2 separate regions of the Homo sapiens genome follow, and region 1 is linked to region 2. Evidence: promoter capture Hi-C in 16 types of primary human blood cells and fetal thymus (Javierre and others, 2016). All regions are on one chromosome and are shown on one strand. Each heading gives the region's core, a stretch centred on a gene start or on the middle of the fragment in contact. The rest is flanking DNA. Distances are from core to core; before and after follow the strand shown. Region 1 has its middle 87 kb from the start of PRICKLE2-DT. Region 2 holds the start of PRICKLE2-AS2 (PRICKLE2 antisense RNA 2).

The links. Contacts are between HindIII fragments. The CHiCAGO score rates a contact against its expected background, and 5 or more counts as called.
Region 1: a contact is called between a fragment that was not itself captured here and the fragment with the promoter of PRICKLE2-AS2 in region 2, in 1 of 17 cell types (megakaryocytes). The highest score is 5.3, in megakaryocytes.

The regions. Positions count from the first base shown.
Region 1 is chr3:64,357,176-64,359,875 of GRCh38, reverse strand. No RefSeq gene overlaps it. Among named protein-coding and RNA genes, the nearest start is that of PRICKLE2-DT, 87 kb to the left of the region's middle. The HindIII fragment of the contact is 2,037 bases long and covers 345-2,381 here.
Region 2 is chr3:64,102,128-64,104,827 of GRCh38, reverse strand. PRICKLE2-AS2 (PRICKLE2 antisense RNA 2) reads right to left here and starts at 1,358. Exons shown (of 4, transcript NR_046701.1): 1 at 1,324-1,358; 2 at 95-335. All of the region lies in intron 7 of PRICKLE2 (prickle planar cell polarity protein 2), which reads left to right. PRICKLE2-AS1 (PRICKLE2 antisense RNA 1) reads right to left here. Exons shown (of 3, transcript NR_045697.1): 3 at 1,697-2,700. The HindIII fragment of the contact is 2,788 bases long and covers 1-2,509 here.

The sequences.
Region 1 (2,700 bases), core at 114-2,613, 260 kb before region 2:
TTCATACATTTGATGTTGAGTGTATATATTGGTTCAAAATTTCTGGCAAGGCATTATCAAAAACCTGAAAAATATTCATGCCCTTTGACTCCACATTGTCATTTCCAGGAATTCTTGATAAGGAAATAATCCAAAAAGAGGAAAAAGAAAAAAAAGAAAAAAAAACTGTATCACTTAGGTATTTATAGCAATGCTATTTTTTCATAATTATGAATTGGAAATAACAAAAATATTTAGCAGTGAGGTTATGAAATGGTCTAGCAATAGGGGACTGGAGTATTAATCAAAATAATTTAGCGATTAACAATGATGTTTACAAAGAGTTTTATGAAATGGGGAAAGCTTATGATATATTGATAAATGAAAATTGTATATTTGTTCCTATTATTTTAAAAACATTTAAAAAATACAGGAAGAAAATATGCCAAAATTCTAATGATGGTTGTGTCTGGGTGGTGGAAACTCTCCCCACCCCCACCTTTTTTTAAAATTTCTTGCATACTTAGTTTGTTTAACTCTGCTCTATTCAGCAGTTTTTCAAAAATTAATATTGATTAAATGCCAATGATGTATCAGCATTGATTTATTGTAGCTCTATTTGTGTTAGAAGTATTTTAGTTTTTATATGTTCATTGATTGATTACAGCACTGAGAGTTGCTTTCTCATGACTGCTCAGTGGAGTGTCTTTCAGCTGATGAGGACTAACGTGTCCTTGTTTTGAATGAAACTCTGGGTTTCTCTATCGACTTAGCTGGTAGCAACCATCCCCAGCAGCCTGGACAAAAGTGCACCAGCAGGAGATCCACCTGCATGGGTCCCTGTAGGTGGCCTCACTGTCAGGGTGGGGCTCGGGGATCTGATGGCTGCAGGGCTTCAATGACACAATTGCAATGTGAAAGTTTAAGAGGTTTTATTACTTACAGACCCTGGTGGCACACAGCAAGCCTGGAGGCCGCCACACACAGGGAGTTCAGGGAGCCCAGGCAGGGAGACAGAAGACAATGTGGCAACCATCTATACATATTTGGGAATAGATGTGGGTCACTTTAAGTTCACAGGCACATGCCTAAATGGTTCATGTAAGGGAAATTGCAGGGAAAGCTGGAAGCCCAGTCTGCTAGGTGGGCTAAGTTCTTATCTCTGCTAAGTTCTTACCTCTGGCTCCTGGCTTGAGCCATTTGGGTGTGGTATAGAACTGGAAACTGTCAAAAGTGACACTGAGCTCTGTCTCTGGCATGAGAGAGTTAAACTTATATTTAGAATGGATGCCAAGGCAACATAAAATTATAAGCATTCAGCACAGCCCTTCTATGCTTTCCACAGTACGAATATGCTGTCAGTCTGTGACTTCTCCATCCTTCTCCCCTGCCATTACTGCATGGTCTCATGACACTATGGCCCTGTGATATCAGGAAAGGGCCGCAAAAAATGGTGCTAAAGGTGCCGTGAAGATGCCAAGGAAATCTATAAACAATAGATGTAAAAAATGCAAAATTCACAGGAAACTGCTCTTTAGGAAGTGGCCAGGAAAACAGCATGAAAATCAACTGGTGATAGGGCTGTGGTGATAGGGCTGTGGTGCAAGTCACCTAGCATCCTGCGGGCACCACAAACATCACAGCTGGAAGAATTAACTAACCATTGTGTAGAAAAGTAAGTGGAGGGTATGAGAAAATATAGCTAGAGAAATGACATGGCTTTGAGGGCTTAGAATACACAGAGGAGGGTTGCCAGCGTGCTGATGCAGAACTTTATCTCCATAAGTCCTGGGCTATAAGGATCCCGTATAAGTGGCTTAGTTAGCCCTTCTATTTCTAGGAATTCATTTTCCAAACATGGTGAGTATACACACACACACACACACACACACACACACACACACACCCCAAATTTGCTAAAACTGGCTATGCACATGAGTTTTATATTGGGGAGTGAGGTCACATATTTTTAAAACAAGGGAAGAACAGAGGAAGGAAGGATGGAAAAGAAGGAGAGAGAGAGGGCAGGAGACAAGGAGAAAGAGAGAAAGAAGGGGTTGGGGGGAAAGAGAGAGGAAGAGAGGGAAGAAAATGGACAGACAAAAACAAGAAAGTGCTTTTCCAGTGAACTGTCAATGTCACACCCTGGTTTCAGGTGGTTGTTTTGGATCTGCTGGACAAGTATGGTTTGGAAACTGAAAGTTAGGTGAGTTCATGATTTTGTAGATTGTAGATGTCACCTGGCTGGGACCTGGGGAAATCACTGTCACATGAAAAGAGCTTGTTTCTGTAAATGTGCATTTGGGATGTGGGCCTTGTTCTAACCTTGGGTGACCCTCAGCTGCTTTGGCCTCAGTTTTCTCATCTATAATGTAAAGGGTTTGGAAAGTGATCTTCAAGCTTCTTCCAGTGATTTTGTGGCCCAATATGAGTTATCTGGAGATCTTCTCAACTTTGCAAGAGAAGGAAACAAGCCTTATTCTGCCAGTAGCCCTGGAGTTAACATGTTTCTTCTGGTATAAGTAAGACTTCCATGAACTGTGGTTGGGTGCCTGAATAAGCAGAGTCACCTCAAGATGATCTTTTTTTAGATATTTGCAAGAGGTTTTAATAGCTCCACAAATAGTTGGAGGTCAAAATAAGGATATTTACAACATGGACTATGGTAAATTAAATGTCATGCCTTGTCAACATTCATCCTCTCAGAGGTCCTGTGAGGTA
Region 2 (2,700 bases), core at 109-2,608:
AATGAATCAGAAGAGAGGCATTTCTCCTCTCTAGAGTGAGCAGGTAGTATTTCCAGTCCCACCCACACATAGTCCAGGGGAATGAATGGCTTACATTTAGGTGAAACTGATAGTAGATGCTGGGCTTGTGCAACAGGACCCTCCTGCTCTGATCAAGCTCTTTTGTTTTTCAAGGGGGTGCCTCAGGTTATCCCGAGCTTTCCCGGGATGCAGAAGCCTGATACCAGAAGGCAGTACACCTCCCAGCAGAATAGAAGCTGCTCTTCTTCGAGGTCACCTCCTCACGGAAATAGGAATCTGTTCACAAGCAGGATGCTCTCAAAAACATTTCACTTCTGGGCTTATGAAAGACAGGTTCGGGAAAACAGCATGCTGGGGAATTAATAGTATTTGCTAAGTTATTTATGCTGACCCTAATTCTACTCAAGAGCTAGGTTGGAAAGCCCTGCAAAGATCATTGTGTCCACCTTTTGTTTCTAGACATGAGTTTGAAGATGTTTTCTTTCCTTTCTTACTAGAGTTCATCCACTCAAACCACTCATTCATCATCTTAGGTTGTTATCCTCTCCTCTCTGCTTTCATATTGGGGAGGCTCTGGAAGTGATTAGGCTGTTGTAAATCGGCTTTTATGATTTGTATGTAAGAGATAAGCAGCAGAGTAAGCAAGCGATTGGAGGCCCCAGCTGCTATTGCCCTGACAGTTATCCCAGGAACGAAATTGAAACAAAAAATTACTGGAGTATATGATATTTAGCTGATTAATTTCTTTATAGGCATATCCAATGTTAAAATTTGACCCTTTAACAAACATTGTTTTATTTTTTATTTATTTATTTGTTTATTTTTTGGAGACAGGGGCTCGCTCTGTTGCCCAGGCTGGAGCACAGTTGCACAATCTCGGCTCACTGCAGCCTCCACCTCCTGGGCTCAGGTGATACTGCCACCTCAGTCTCCCAAGTAGCTGGGACTACAGGCACGCACCACCATGCCCAGCTAATTTTTGTATTTTTAGTAGAGACAGGGTTTCACCATGTTGCCCAGGTTTGTCTTGAACTCCTGAGCTCAAGCAGTCCACCCTCCTTGGCCTCCCAAAGTGCTGGGATTACAGGCATGAGCCACCACACCTGGCCAAACGTTGCTTTACTTTTACTCCATTTTATTGAGATATAATTTACACAGAATAAAGCAAACCAATATTAAAACTACATCTCAGTGAATTTTTACACATGTGTATTGTTTTACAGCCACCATCCAGATTTAGTTATAGAACAATTGCAGTGCCCTAGAAGCCTTCTTCATACCCCCTCCTCCCACTGCCCTGACCTGTATCACTATAGATAGCCTCAGCCTGTTCTTGAACTTCATATAAATGGAATCATACAGCACATATTCTTTTTGCATGTCCAAGCATTTTCTATGAGATACATCCATGTTCTTGGGTGTAGTTATTCGTTCTCATTATTGTGTAATATTCCATTTTATCAGGGTTTCTTCTGAGACTGTTGACAGTTTGGTTTGGAAAATTCTGTGTGGAGGCAAGGAAGCCATCCTTCACACTGTAGGATGTTTAGCAACATCTCTGGCCTCTACCTACTAGACGCCAGGAGAATCCCATCCTAATAGTGACAACCAAAAATGTGTCCAGATGTTTCCAAATTTCCTTCAGAATTAAAAACCATCATATCAGATGAATATATTCTAATGTTAAAGAAACTTTTTATTTGGAAATAATTTCAGACTTAAAAAAAGTTATAAAAATAGAACAAACAACACCTGTAATGTACTCTTTACGTAGATTGATCCATTGTTAACCTTTTGCCACATTTGTTCTTTCATGTTCACATGCATGCACACACACGCACACACACACACATTTTATTTATAAACCATTTGAGAGCAAATTGCATCCATCTGGGCCATTTACCACCATATCCTTCCATATATATTTCCCAAGAGTAAAGATCTTCTCCCACATTATCACCATTATTAATTGACCACAGTAAATTTAGCATAATACTTTTATCTATTGCCCATGTTCCATTTTTTTTTCAGTTGACCAAAAGTTATCCTTTATAGAGGCAGTCCCCAACCTTTTTGGCACCAGGGACCGGTTTTATGGAAGATAATTTTTCCACAGACTGGGGCCAGGGGGTGGGGATGGCTTTGGGATGGTTCAAGTGCATTACATTTATTATGTACTTTATTTCTATTATTACTACATTGTAATATATACTGAAATAATTACACAACTCACTTTAAGGTAGAGTCAGTGGGAGACCTGAGCTTGTTTTCCTGCAACTAGACAGTCCCATCTAGGGGTAATGGGAGACAGTTATGGATCATCAGGCATGAGATTCTCGTAAGGAGCACACAACCTAGATCCTGCATGAGCAGTTCACAACAGGGTTTACACTCCTATGAGAGTCTAATGCTGCTGCTGATCTGTCAGGAGGCAGAGGTCAGGCAGTAGTTGGAGCAATGGGGAGTGGCTGTACATGCAGATGAAGCTTCCCTTACTGACCACTCACCTCCTTCTGTGTGGCCCTGCTCCTAACCAGTCTGTAGCCTGAGGTCTGGGAACCCCTACTTTATAGCATTTAGTTTCCCTAAAGAGCAGGTTCCAGTCCAGGATCAGGTATTATATGTAATTGCCATGTTTCCCTCGTACCCTTTCATCTAGAACATTCTCTCAGTCTTGTC